3 separate regions of the Homo sapiens genome follow, and all the other regions are linked to region 2. The links are contacts of gene promoters, found by promoter capture Hi-C in blood cells and fetal thymus (Javierre and others, 2016). All regions are on one chromosome and are shown on one strand. Each heading gives the region's core, a stretch centred on a gene start or on the middle of the fragment in contact. The rest is flanking DNA. Distances are from core to core; before and after follow the strand shown. Region 1 has its middle 13 kb from the start of GPR160. Region 2 holds the start of ACTRT3 (actin related protein T3). Region 3 overlaps SEC62 (SEC62 preprotein translocation factor).

Region 1 (4,780 bases), core at 1,262-3,761, 260 kb before region 2:
CAAATTCTTTCTTCATGAGATCCAGGAACCCTTTAGGAGTCTGGATCAGGACCCCTTTCCAGTAACCTCTTGATATTTAAATGGGGTCAGTACTCACTAACAATCCATTAAAGCAAAGTCTTTTCCATTCTTGAATTCTTTATCTTGAACTGTCTCTTGATTGTCTAGATTTTGCAAGTAACTTTTCCAAGAGGGGTTGATCAGTGCCATATTTCCTGAGTACTGTTTTTCCTCATATCTATCTATATTATATATTATTCTATCATAATCTAATACATTGTTCTTCCATATTATGGATAACCACTCTCTTTTCTTTTATCTCTGCCCTCTATATTTTTCTTAACCCTGTTTTCCAAGTCATGGATTCTTTTTTCAGCATTTCTATGCTTCTTACTGCTTCTATTGTGATTTTCATTTCCAAAATACTTTAATGTTATGTATCATTTTTTTCCTTACTGAAGCCGATTACTTCATCTTCCTCTCTGATCTCTCATACTTCCTTCTGAAGCTCTTTGGCAAATAATCTTTTTTTTTTTTTTTTCTTTTTGAGACAGGATCTTGCTCTATTGCCCAGGCTGGAGTGCAGTGGCATGATCTCGGCTCACTGCAACCTCCGCCTCCCAGGTTCAAGCTACTCTCCTGCCTTAGCCTCCTGAGTAGCTGGGATTACAGGCATGTGCCACTACACCCAGATAATTTTTTTGTATTTTTAGTAAAGAAAGGGTTTCACCATGTTGGCCAGGCTGGTCTTGAACTCCTGACCTCAAGTGATCCACCCGCCTCAGCCTCCCAAAGTGCTGGGATTACAGGCGTGAGCCACCGCTCACAGCCCCTTTGGCAAAGATTTTATAGGTTCCTTTTAAATTCTTTGAGAGTGAAATCTTTTTCTTAAATATTCTTCTGTGTGTCACTTTTAAAAACTGTACTATGCATACAACTTAAATTGCATTTCTTTTCTGTGTTTATCTCATATCTACATGCAAACAATTGTATCTGGTTCTTTTGTTCTTTTGTTGAAAAACAGTTTGGAGAGGGTCAGTTTATTGAGCTGGAGTAGCTGACAACTTCAAAATGAAAATGCTGCCTTAGAACACTCTCCCCAAATTATGTTGTCTTTTTTTTTTTTTTTCAGTAGGACAATTTCCCTTCAGTTGAGCAAGCTGTCCAAGTAGGAGGTTGTTGTGGACAACTGTAAAGATTCCTAGATAATAGGCCAGGTGTGGTGGCTCACGCCTGTAATCCCAGCACTTTGGGAGGCCAAGGTGGGTAGAGAGCTTGAGGTCAGGAGTTCGAGACCAGCTTGGCCAACATGGTGAAACCCCATTTCTACTAAAAATACAAAAATTAGCTGGGCATGGTGGCTCACGTCTGTAATCCCAGCTACTTGGGAGGCTGAGGCAGGAGAATCGCTTGAACCTAGGAAGCAGAGGCTGCAGTGAGCCAAGATCGTGCCATTGTACTCCGGCCTGTGCAACAAGAGTGAAACTCTGTCTCAAAAAAAAAAAAAGATTCCTAGATAAGAGATATTTTGTCTAGGGATTTTATGTTTAACTCTGCTTAATGGACTGGTCAGCACCAGCAAAGCCGGTTTTGATTTCTTCTCTCTTCTTACTCCCGTCTCCAAGCACCTTTGTTAAGTTAGAATCCAGAGCACAGAGAAAAATTACTAATGAATTCAATTGTATCATCAGCCCCACCTTCCTCATCCTCAGTTCTCATTTTCCTTTTGGTCTCCCCACAGTTGTGTTGCTGTTGGGTTTGGTTTTTTTTTGTTTTGAATGGTGATCATTTATGGAAGGTTAACATGGGCCATGCATGTTTTTACATGTATTCCTCATTCAGTCCTTAAAACTATCCCAGACTTTATGATGCTCATTTTTATAGACGAGGAACCTGAGGCACAGAGAAATTGAATAACTTGCTCAAGTCACACAGCTTGTAAATAGCAGAACCAGGTATTGCGTGTCTAGAGCCACTGTACTCTACCACGTTGTAACCTCTCAGGAAATGCTAACATACTTTCTACTCACTATAACCTTGCTCAAGATCTGGAGAGCCACATTTCATCATAGTCTGGGGTTTGGAGGTTGTCCTTTTTTGTAGAAGGACTTGTCTAACTTTTTTTTTTTTTTTTTTTTTTGAGACGGAGTCTCGCTCTGTCGTCCAGGCTGGAGTGCAGTGGCGCGATCTCAGCTCACTGCAACCTCTGCCTCCTGGGTTCAAGCGATTCTCCTGCCTCAGCCTCCCGAGTAACTTTTTAATTATTGTTGTTGGTCTTCTTTTGTTGGCGATTTCATGGAGAAGCCCAGTATATATGCACTGTACTTCAACTTTTGCCAGAAGTCTTTAGTAGCATTATTTTCGGGTAAATTGCAAAATAGCTGTTTACTCCTGTCGATGAAAAGAGTCAAACTCTGTAAAATATTCTAAGAGATTTATTCTGAGCCAAATATGAGTGGCCATGGCCTGTGACACAGCCCTCAGGAGGTCCTGAGAACATGTGCCCAAGGTGGTGGGGGTACAGCCTGGTTTTATATGTTTTAGGGAAGTATGAGACATCAATAGAAAACATTTAAGAAACACATTGGTTTGGTTTGGAAAAGCAGGACAACTCAAAGTGGGGCGGGGCGGGGGTTGCTTCCGGGCTGTAGGTAAATTTAAACATTTTCTGGTTGACTGTTGGTTGAGTTTATCTGAAGACCTGGCATCACCAGAAAAGAAATGTTTAAGTTAAGATAAAGGGTTGTGGAGACCAACTTAGCAGACTGCAGAGAGAGCAGGTTGTAAAATGTTTCGAATAGGACCTAAAAGGGTACCTGGCTCTTAGTTGATTATCTCCTGGATCTGGAAAAAAAGGAAGGAAAACAAAGTAGAAAGGGGATTCTCTATAGAATGTGGATTTTTCCCATAAGGGATGGCTTTTCAGGGCCATTTCAAGATATGGCAGAGAAACATGTTTTGGGGTAAAATATTTCGATTTTCTTTCTTGTTATGCTAGAGTCAGATTGGAAAGTAAGTCACAATATACAGGGTTAAATAAACCCCATCTGATGAGAATTTATGGTTTGTAGGGCATGACTCCCCAGGCTCCTTAGATAGGAATTTGGACAAGAGAAAAATCAGAGCTTAGTCCTTACTCTCTTACCCTAGGCGCTTTAGGGCTGTTCTGTTCAATATGGTAGCCACTAATCACAAACTAGTGTATTTAACTTATATCACATATGGCTACTAAGCCCTTAAAATATTAAGCCCGTCCAGATTGTAATATGCTGTAATTGCAAAATGTACACCGCATTTCAAAGACTTAGTACAAAAGAAAAAATATAAAATATCTCGATAATAACTTTTATATTGATAGTACTGGAATGATCATATTTTTAATATATTAGGTTAAATACAATGTACGGTTACAGTTTATTTCACTTGTTTCTTCTTACTTTTCAAATGTGGTGACTAGAAAAGGTAAAATTACATATCTGGCTCACATTAAACAATGCTGCTCTAGGGTTTCTTTTCATCCAGCAATGGCTTAGTTAAGACAGAGGAGGCAATATGGATCCACGAAAAAGTGTCTGTGTGAAGCAGGGTGAAGAGTACGTGGGGGTTGATTATATTACATGGTCTATTTTTGCATATGATGGAAATTTCCCTTAATTAAAAGTTAAAAAGCAAACTCCCAAATATGCATAATTAATACAGAATTTTTTTTGCCATGGTTTAAGTTCCAAGCATGTAACTCATCTGAACAATTTATCCGTTTTAAAATATAATGAATTTCCTCTTGACTAGATCCCATCTGTAGGAGGTAAGCCAACAAGGTGTACTGCACAAGAAGAAAAGAATGCAGAGCTTTCAGTCTGGCCAAGAAGACAGGCTAGGTTCAAGGTAGGCAGTAGCTTCACACCTTGAGAGTTTCTAGCTTATTTCTCTCTATAGGAAATATTTGGTACAAAGTCCAAATTCAATGGTTAGTGCCTTGGACCCATAGGAACCTAGCCTTATCAGTAACAGGTTTCACAACATCTGCTATTTTCCTATGAAAGTGTACACACATAACTATGAAACCAGGACATGAAGTGGGAAGCAGTGATTAATTAAAAAGTGTCCTTTGTTTTATTTTTTTCTTGCAGCAGTACTCGAAGATTGCTTGTTAACCCCAGCATAGAGGGTAAGAGTATACCCTTGGGGTCAGACTCCCTGGTTTCAACTCCTGGGTAACTTAGAAAGTGTTACCTAAATTTTCAACGTGTTGGTAGACTTTTTCCATCTGTAAAATAGGAAGCATAAGGTAAGTCTCAAAGGATGTTGTAAGAATTCAATGAAATCATATGTGAAAAATGCTTTCACCGTACTTGGCCAAAAAGAAGGACCCAGTAAATGTTAGCTGTTGTTTTATGGCAAATTTTTGCTTATTTCTAGTTGTTTGACACTTTACAGATTCCCTGGCTAATGAAATATTCTGCCTTCTACATATAGTATGAGAAATGACCAATTATCACAGCATTAAATGGCTGTCTTTATCTCTAGACGCAACTCTTGAGGGCAGGATCTGTGTAGTTAAATAAAAATTACGGGGGGCTATTGTTTTGGGCTAAGTTTCTGCACTAGGCTCCAACAGACCAGACTAAAAATCAGAATGGAGTTAACTTTGATAAAGTTCCACATCACCAAATCCAAACTAGGTTGTTGTCTGACCTTCCGAGAAATCAGGAGAGATAACAGCCAGTTTCTCATACAGGCCCGGTTAAATCTCTGCTTTAACCTTTGTACAACAGAAGTA
Region 2 (5,149 bases), core at 1,095-3,594:
TCCGGGGCGAAGCAGGGGGCTTTCGTTATTCAGCCGCGAAAAAGCCATCCTTTCAGCTTCTGGTGGAAGGACGTGTAAAATTACTTTTGAATTTCCTCTTTTTGCTTCCGAAGACCAAGCAGAAGTTCTAAATTGACTGCTTGTTTTCAAATTCTCTACAGATGTATGCAGAATCAGACACCAAGATGCGTTTATTGACATGCAATGTACTTTCAAATTTTTCCAAACTTGAATTTCATATGACCTGATAAACTTCACTTTTCCTGCAAAAAGACAGGCACGTCCTTCAGCCTAAAAATCAAGAGTAGCGAATGAGGCTTGCAGATTACACCAGAAGGATAGAAATCGAAATATATATATTTATATTTATTATATATAAATATAAATTTTTATATATTTATTATATATAAACATAAATTTTTATATATTTATTATATATAAACATAAATTTTTATATATTTATTATATATAAACAAATTTTTATATATTTATTATATATAAACATAAATTTTTATATATTTATTATATATAAACATAAATTTTTATATTTATTATATATAAACAAATTTTTATATTTATTATATATAAACATAATTTTTTATATATTTATTATATATAAACATAATTTTTTATATATTTATGATATATAAATATAATTTTTTATATATTTATGATATATAAATATAATTTTTTATATATTTATGATATATAAATATAATTTTTTATATATTTATGATATATAAATATAATTTTTTATATATTTATGATATATAAATATAAATTTTTATATATTTATGATATATAAATATAAATTTTTATATATTTATGATATATAAATATAAATTTTTATATATTTATGATATATAAATATAAATTTTTATATATTTATGATATATAAATATAAATTTTTATATATTTATGATATATAAATATAAATTTTTATATATTTATGATATATAAATATAAATTTTTATTTATGATATCTAAATATAAATTTTTATTTATGATATCTAAATATAAATTTTTATTTATGATATCTAAATATAAATTTTTATTTATGATATCTAAATATAAATTTTTATTTATGATATCTAAATATAAATTTTTATATATGATATCTAAATATAAATTTTTATATATGATATCTAAATATAAATTTTTATATATGATATCTAAATATAAATTTTTATATATGATATCTAAATATAAATTTTTATATATGATATCTAAATATAAATTTTTATATATGATATATAAATATAAATTTTTATATATGATATATAAATATAAATTTTTATATATTTATGATATATAAATATAAATTTTTATATATTTATGATATATAAATATAAATTTTTATATATTTATATTTATGATATATAAATATAAATTTTTATATATTTATATTTATGATATATAAATATAAATTTTTATATATTTATATTTATGATATATAAATATAAATTTTTATATATTTATATTTATACATATAATAAATATAAATATAAATTTTTATATATTTATATTTATACATATAATAAATATAAATATATATATTTCGATTTATATCCTTGCTTAAATATATAAATATATATTTTATAAATATATAAATATATTTATATAATATAACATATATTTATATAAATTATATAAATTTATATATTTTTTAATATTTTATATTTAAATTTATATATATTTATATAAATATATATAAATTTATATTTATTTACATATTTAAGCTAGGAACTACTATTTTGTTTTAATTGCGTACATTTTGCTTGGAAATCACAGGAAGAAACACAACAAAGCATTGCCCAAGGTACAGAAACAATAATAAACGTACTTAAAACTCATTTAAATTCCAGCATTTTTCTCCTTATTTTAGAAGTTTAACATTTCAGAAGCAGACACTGCCTCCCTTCCTGCAACAACTTTCTCCTCTTAAGTCTCATTTTTCCCCAGTTTCAAGGGCGAATTCTAGAACTCCCCGGAACCGCCACCAGTTAACCAGAATTCCGTGGCTTTGGAAAATAAAACTGCTGTTATAGCTCTTCTGGGTATTTGAGAAATGCACTTGTGAAGGGTTAGAGTTGAATCTTTTGATGCGAAAGTCGGGTTTTCCTGATACTGGGATTCCGGGATTCCAGGTGTTGGGGTGGCCCAATTCCTGCGAGAAGCAATAGCGGGCGGTAACATGAGGAGCACGGTGCGTCCAGCGAGTCCTTCCGCCTGGGGCCCTGCCGACCCCCTGCCTGCGCCCCCAGGACTCTGGCCTCACCCGGCCGTGCCGGGGCCTCTGTGACGCGGCGTTCCAGGCACTCGGCCCCGGCCGAGCCCGTAGCTAGAGCGGCTCAGAGACAGGAGGCGGCGGCAGCAGCGGCGGCATGAACCACTGCCAGCTACCGGTGGTGATCGACAACGGCTCGGGAATGATCAAGGCGGGCGTGGCTGGGTGCCGGGAGCCCCAGTTTATCTACCCGAACATTATCGGCCGCGCCAAGGGCCAGAGCCGCGCGGCCCAGGGCGGGCTAGAACTCTGCGTGGGCGACCAAGCTCAGGACTGGAGGAGCTCGCTGTTCATCAGGTACCTCCTTCTCCCAGCAGGCTGCTGGGGCTGGGGAGGGTGGGTGGGGTGGGGGTGGGGTAGGGTGGGGCTGGGGAGGTTGGGGGGTGGGGCTGGGGTGGCTGGGGGTGGGGGGACTGGGGGTGTTGTCGGGGGGCAGGAAAGGACCCCAAAGGAGGTGCGCAATGGGGACAGAAAGAATAAGAAAGCCGGGAGCTGGAAAGCCCCATCCAGCTGGAATTACTACAAACGCACGGGCCACAAATCTCCAAGGGTACCACACATCTAAAAACTGAACATTTTGCTCTCTGTGGCTATACAAATGTATTAAAACGTATAAAGTTATCGAACGAATTCATTTAAGAATATTAACTCATGGTCCCTTTTGTCACTTGGGTTATTCTCTTCAATTGACATTTAAACTATACTATAATGTGGACATTTCCCAATTTTTTAAAAGTCACAAGGTTCCAAAGGACAGAGAAAATGGAAAGCAACAAAAATCGCAGAGGTAGGCCGGGCGCGGTGGCTCACGCCTGTAATCCTAGCACTTTGGGAGGCCGAGCAGGGCGGATCACGAGGTCAGGAGTTCGAGACCATCGTGGCTAACACGGTGAAACCCCGTCTCTACTAAAAATACAAAAAAATTAGCCGGGCGTGGTGGCGCGCGCCTGTAGTCCCAGCTACTCAGGAGACTGAGGCAGGAGAATGGCGTGAACCCGGGAGGCGGAGCTTGCAGTGAGCTGAGATCGCGCCACTGCACTCCAGCCTGGGTGACAGAGCGAGACTCTGTCTCCAAAAAAAAAAAAAAAAATTGCAGAGGTAAGTAGCTGTGCTATTTTTGGCTGACACTTACCTGCTGTGAGAGGCTGTGGCAGTTATTGCCCATAAAGGGATATTGGTAATAAACGCGGGGAATTAACTGAGGGTCGAAGACAATAGAAACTAGAAAAATAAAAAGCTGTCATTGATCTTATTGCTTTCCTTACAGTTACCCAGTGGAGCGTGGTCTCATTACTTCATGGGAGGACATGGAGATCATGTGGAAGCATATCTATGACTATAACCTAAAGCTGAAGCCGTGTGATGGCCCAGTCTTGATTACTGAGCCAGCGCTGAACCCACTGGCCAACCGGCAACAGATCACGGAAATGTTTTTTGAGCATCTGGGTGTTCCTGCCTTCTATATGTCCATCCAGGCTGTGCTGGCTCTCTTTGCTGCTGGCTTCACTACTGGCCTTGTGCTGAATTCAGGTGCTGGGGTTACCCAGAGTGTGCCCATCTTTGAGGGTTACTGTCTGCCTCATGGTGTGCAGCAACTGGATCTGGCAGGCCTTGACCTCACCAACTACCTCATGGTGCTAATGAAGAACCATGGTATCATGTTGCTCAGTGCTTCAGACAGAAAGATTGTTGAAGACATCAAGGAGAGCTTTTGTTATGTGGCAATGAACTACGAAGAGGAAATGGCCAAGAAACCCGATTGTCTAGAGAAAGTTTACCAACTACCTGATGGGAAGGTCATCCAGCTCCATGACCAGCTCTTTTCTTGTCCAGAGGCCCTCTTCTCTCCGTGTCATATGAACCTTGAGGCCCCTGGCATTGATAAGATATGCTTCAGCAGCATAATGAAATGTGATACAGGCCTGAGGAATTCCTTCTTTTCCAATATTATCCTTGCCGGGGGATCAACCTCTTTCCCTGGTTTAGACAAGCGGTTAGTTAAGGATATAGCAAAGGTGGCTCCTGCCAACACCGCTGTGCAAGTTATAGCTCCTCCAGAAAGGAAAATATCAGTGTGGATGGGAGGTTCTATTCTTGCATCCTTGTCTGCCTTCCAGGACATGTGGATCACTGCTGCAGAATTTAAAGAAGTTGGACCCAACATAGTACACCAAAGATGCTTCTGAAATACAGATAAAATGGTTGGAAGAAAATGTTTTGAGTATATGTGACAGAAAACTTTGGATATTATATGTTTCTGGGAGAAGAGAAAATACTTCACCTATTGGGATGCCAATATTTCTGTTGTATTTCTATAATGGGTTTGGGGGATAATAATGGTGAAGCTCAAGAACAGATGTCTATTGAGTAGAACCAAGTTAAAATAATGTTTCCCATAGTGTTTCTTCTATAACTTGACGTTGGTGAGCTTATATTTCCCTTGGAAGAGAGCATTTGTGGTACAATATGCTATGTGCCAAATGAGTGATAAGATTTAAGCTTATTGAAGTTTAGGGAAAGAAGGTTGCTGTGGTGAGGAACGAGACTCCATAGCAGAGGTATGCCATCATGGAAGGGGTGGCATTGGGATGGAGCGCAGATATCCAGGCAAGCATACTAAAATGAACAAGTTGCTAAAGATGAGAATGAACAAAGCATATTCAGGGCATGTTTAATAGACTGATTTTGTTTTTAAAATTTTTGTTTATGTATGTATTTATTCATTTATTTAGTTTTAGAGGCAGAGTCTTGCCCTGTGTCCCAGGCTGGAGTGCAGTAGTGCAATCATAGCTCACTGCAGCCTCCAACTCCTGGGCTCTGCCCTCAGCCTCCCAAGTAACTGAATCCACAGGTATGCACCAC
Region 3 (4,789 bases), core at 1,298-3,797, 230 kb before region 2:
CAATGTCTTGTTGCTTCCTCTTTGTAATGTGGCAAGTGGGGGTAGGGTGAACAAAATGAGCATCCTGATGGATTTTATTTTAAGCAGGTTTCACTTTATGGTAAACACAAGATATTTTAGTGATAAATGGAATGCTTATTTGATATTGTCCCACATATTGTGACTTTGTGCTGGAAGCCTCTATACCAGAGGCCCAAGGAGTTATTCTTTTGTTCCTTTTTCTTTTTCCCTTTTTTTTTTTTTGAGACAGAGTCTCGCTCCTTTGCCCAGGATGGAGTGCAGTGGCCGCGATCTCAGCTCACTGCAACCTCTGCCTTCTGGGTTCAAGCGATTCTCCTGCCTCAGCCTCCTGAGTAGCTGGGATTACAGGCTCCCACCACCACGCCCGGCTGATTTTTGTATTTTTAGTAGAGACGGAGTTTCACCATGTTGGCCAGGCTGGTCTCAAACTCCTGAGAGCAGATGATCCGCACGCCTCTGCCTCCCAAAGTGCTGGGATTATGGGCATGAGCTTTCGCGCCCGGCCTGTTCCTTTCCTTTCTACTCCGTCAGTTAGTGGTTAGTTTTCACTTGGATTTGTAAACTCCTGGTGGGCAGTATTCCAAGTTCTCAGAAGCATTTGTGTCGGTGATAAAAAGGAAACAGAGACTAAGGAGTGATGGCTGCTGTAAAATCCTCCCTTGTGGAGTAAGAGCTCTCTGATCGCTCGCCTCTTTTTGCCTCCGCAATCCTTCACCATCTAACTTCTTTCTCAAAGCCTGCAGCACTTTGTTTGTGTCTGTTTGTTTGTTTGTTTGCCTTATCATAACCCTACCAGGCTGGAAGCTTTCCGATGGCGGAGATTGTAGCTTTTAGGGCAGAAGATGGATCTCCTCCGGCAACGTGTGCATGTGCAGGCAGCCGCTGGTTTCCTTGCTCCTTCCCCGGATTCTGAGCCGGGACTGTGGGTTCCTCATTTATATTATTGTTCAGCATATAGTCGAGGCTCAGTAAATGTTGGCTGAATGAAGAAAGAAAAGGATTGTGCAGCAGGTCTCCAGTTTTAAGATTCTTCAGGTGACTTGCCTTCTGAGTATTGCAGAGAACTGCCATTGCCTCCTGAGAAAAGCAGTCTACGGTCTGTGCTGGGAGTCTCAATGGCATTCCTCTGTCTGGTCACCGCATCCCTCTCAATCTGTGTGGTGGGGAATAAAGAATGTGAGGTGGCAATGGGGCTGAACATTCGAGCTCATTTTCCAGGAGTTGGTTCCCTTCTATAGGAACATTATCCGTGTATAATCGTGGCTTGGCATTGATGGAACTGTTCAAACAAACATGTCATGCTCCCACCAATACTGTTAATAAGAAACTTTGGGTGGAGGCAGAGGGAAGCACGAGACATCTGAATCTTGCATATGTTTTCTTTTTTTGACGGAGTCTCGCTCTGTCGCCCAGACGAGTGTAGTAGTGTGATCTCGGCTCACTGCAGCCTCTGCCTCCTAGGTTCAAGCAATTCTCCTGCCTCAGCCTCCCGACTAGCTGGGACTACAGGTGTGCACCTCTACACCCGGCTAATTTTTGTATTTTTAGTAGAGACAGGGTTTCACCATGTTGGCCAGGATGGTCTTGATCTCCTGACCTCATGATCCACCTGCCTCGGCCTCCCAAAGTGCTGGGATTACAGGTATGAGCCACCACGCCCGGCTGCATATGTTGTTTGTTAAGTAGTGAAATTTGCAATCAGTCCTTTGGAAGGAGACTAAATTAGGGGTGGGATGGAAGGTGAGATAGAAGACAGCATATGCGATTGAAAAGTGGAGAATTCTGATGGTTCTTTTATTAAAGGACAATAAGAAAAAAAGTTATTAAGAATAGGGTTTCAATTTTGTAATTGAACCCTGTGGAGTATATGCAACTAGAAAGATGGGATAGAGATGCAACTTGCTTTGCTTTATATAGTATCCAACCACTCTTTATAGCTGTGCAGTCTGTCAGATATTGTCCAGACTCTGTAAGTACAGACCAGTTTCTGCAGTTACTGCTCTTGTTTTCAAGAGCCTTGTTGTGTACTAATTTACTTGTTACTGCCCTTTATTTTTTTCTTTGCAGTGCAAAGTGCCATAATTGTTAAAGGTGTATGTATTTGAGGATATGGCAAGTTAATAATAAATTCTTCCTTCTAATCCCCTCGAATGTTGATCATTAAAAACACTGTAATGTGAAATACTTTGTAACATGCATTTACTATATACTTAGTCTAAGGATAACTTCACAATCTGAAGCTTGAAGTTGGTGAGCAGAAATACAATTTAAAATCATAAGCTGGTCAATAATTTGTTCTTCTGAAAAAATGGTGTCTTTGGTTCCACACAACATGTTCTTTTTCCAGATCGTTAATTTCTGAATACTCTTAATATAAAGTATACATGGTATGATCCCATTTATTTACTATCTCCTCACCTCAGTGAACAGAGACATACATGTTACACATATAAGAGCTATAGAAGGATATATATGAGTTTTAACAGTAGTTGTCTCTGAAGGTAGGTGCTATGGTTTCAATGTCCCCCTCAAAACTCATGCTGAAATTTAATTGCCATTGTGATGATATTAAGAGGTGGAACCTTTAAGAGGTGATTAGGCCATAAGGGCTCTGCCTTCACAGATGCATTGTTATTATCATGAGAGTGGGCTTGTTATAAAAGCCAGTTCAGCCCCCTCTTGCTCACTGGCTTTCATCTTGTCTTGCCCTTCTGCCTTCCACCATGGGATGCAGCATGAAAGCCCTCACTAGATCCCAGTGCCATGCTCTTGGACTTCTCAGCCTCCAAACTCATGAGTCAAATAAGCTTCTTTTTTTTTTTCTTGAGACAGAATCTCACTCTCTTGCCCAGGCTGGAGTGCAGTGGTGTGATCTCAGCTCACTGCAACCTCTGCCTCCTGGGTTCAAGCGATTCGCCTGTCACAGCCTCCCAAGTAACTGGGACTACAGGTGCACACCACCACACCCAGCTAATTTTTATATTTTCAGTAGAGTCGGGGTTTTGCCATGTTAGCCAGGCTGGTCTCGAACTCCTGACCTCAGGTGATCCACCCGCCTTGGCCTCCCAAAGTGGTGGGATTACAGGCATGAGCCACCATGCCCTGTCAGTTTATTTTCTTTATAAATTACCCAGTCTGTGGTATTCTGTTATAGCTACACAAAATGGACTAAGACAGTAGGTTTGTGAGTTTTCTGGTTATTTTTGCTTATAAGTTTCTGATTTTTCCGTAATAAGAAAATAAATTGTTTTTAACAACAAGAGGGGAGTTGTGGTTAGAATGTGTAAATCTGAGAAATACTGGAAGTATCCAGAAAATATCTAAGCCTTGCTCCTTGCCATGCCATTTTCTATGTGATTAGTGTAGTCTAAGATGCAAATCTGAATGTGTCACTCTCCTGCTTTGAGTCAATCTGCTCCAAAGGTATTTTAGTGTCACTGTTCATACTTACTGTGTGCAACTCAGTCATCTTTCAGTTCCCAGTGACAGAAATCTCATTCAAAATAACTGAGAAAAAATGATGAATCTGTTGGCTCATGCAACTGAAAAGCCCAGGGATGGCTTTAGGCCAGGCTAGATCTGGGAGTTCAAAGATGGCATTAAGGCCTTGTCTTCCTGATCCACCCTTGGTTCTGTTTTTTTCATGTTGGTTCTATTTCTAGACAGGCTCCATTCATGTGAAGGCAGCATAGCCATTGGTTTCTTCAGGTCCACATGGTCCTTGGAATTCAAGACCCCTGAGTAAATGAGAAGACTTCAATTGGCCTGGTGTGAACTGAGTGCTCATCCTTGAGGCCAGTCACCGTGGAATGGAATGAGGAGCACCACAGAAGGGAAAGGAATATTTTCTAAAGGAAGGGATTCTGGTCAAACAATGACTTGCCACCTGTATCCCTCTCTAAACGTTTCTCTTTTCCAGCTGCACCTTAACTAGTTTCAGTTTCAGGGGATGCCATGCTCACTCTGCTGTCTTATTTTTGCACATCTTGCTGCAGTGGCCCAAAATTCCCCTAGTCTTTACTTGGCTAATACCCACTCATTCTTCAAGATCTAGCTCATGATACTTCTATGGGATGCCTTTCCTGACCTTCCTAATCTGGGCTGGGTATTCACTTATGTGATCTCATAAGCACGTCACAGATACTTTTGACATTACACAACACCATTGCCACTGTTTGCATGAATACTTGTCTCTCTTACTAAACTAGCTTTTTGAGTTTTGTGATTGCACAATGCTTAGCACATAGTAATCACTCCACAAATGTTTGCTGAATGACTGAAAGATAATCTTAGTGTTGGTAAGATCCTGTTTTGCTTCTCCCATTTAAAAGATGCTTCAGGCTGGACATGGCAGGTCACATCTGTAATCCACAACTTTGGGAGGCCAAGGCAAGAGGATCATTTGAGCCCAGGAGTTCAAAGCCGACATGGACAACGTAGGGAGACCCCATCTTTATGAAAATTATAAAATTAGCTGGGTGTGGTAGCATGCAATTGTAGTCCCAGCTACTTGGGAGGCTGAGGTGGGAGGATCACTTGAGCCCAGGAGGTCAAGGCTGCAGTGAGCCGTGATTGTACCACTGTACTCCAGCCTGAGTGACAGAGCAAGGAGACCCCCATCTCAAAATAAATAAATACATAAAATAAATAGAAGTTGCTACAAAAATCTTGACTTTTTATTTAGGAGTAAGATATAATCTATCAAAACAAAACATCACATAACACATGTAACTTACTAAATTTGTGACATGAAATGTGAATAATATTA

Evidence for each region. The method cuts DNA at HindIII sites, captures the fragments that hold promoters and counts their contacts. A CHiCAGO score of 5 or more calls a contact.
Region 1: a contact is called between a fragment that was not itself captured here and the fragment with the promoter of ACTRT3 in region 2, in 4 of 17 cell types (non-activated CD4 T cells, activated CD4 T cells, total CD8 T cells and 1 more). The highest score is 9.4, in non-activated CD4 T cells.
Region 3: a contact is called between a fragment that was not itself captured here and the fragment with the promoter of ACTRT3 in region 2, in 1 of 17 cell types (total B cells). The highest score is 5.7, in total B cells.

Annotation. Positions count from the first base shown.
Region 1 is chr3:170,022,579-170,027,358 of GRCh38, reverse strand. No RefSeq gene overlaps it. Among named protein-coding and RNA genes, the nearest start is that of GPR160, 13 kb to the left of the region's middle. The HindIII fragment of the contact is 9,800 bases long and covers 1-4,780 here.
Region 2 is chr3:169,766,756-169,771,904 of GRCh38, reverse strand. ACTRT3 (actin related protein T3) reads left to right here and starts at 2,344. Exons shown (of 2, transcript NM_032487.5): 1 at 2,344-2,584; 2 at 3,555-4,984. The coding sequence starts at 2,385. The coding sequence ends at 4,473. RefSeq lists cis regulatory regions at 2,192, 3,549, enhancers at 2,120-2,264, 2,356-2,615, 3,477-3,621 and a silencer at 2,206-2,275. The HindIII fragment of the contact is 4,942 bases long and covers 1-4,788 here.
Region 3 is chr3:169,998,260-170,003,048 of GRCh38, reverse strand. It overlaps SEC62 (SEC62 preprotein translocation factor), which reads right to left. Exons shown (of 8, transcript NM_003262.4): 8 at 4,676-4,789. Among named protein-coding and RNA genes, the nearest start is that of SEC62, 34 kb to the right of the region's middle. The HindIII fragment of the contact is 567 bases long and covers 2,264-2,830 here.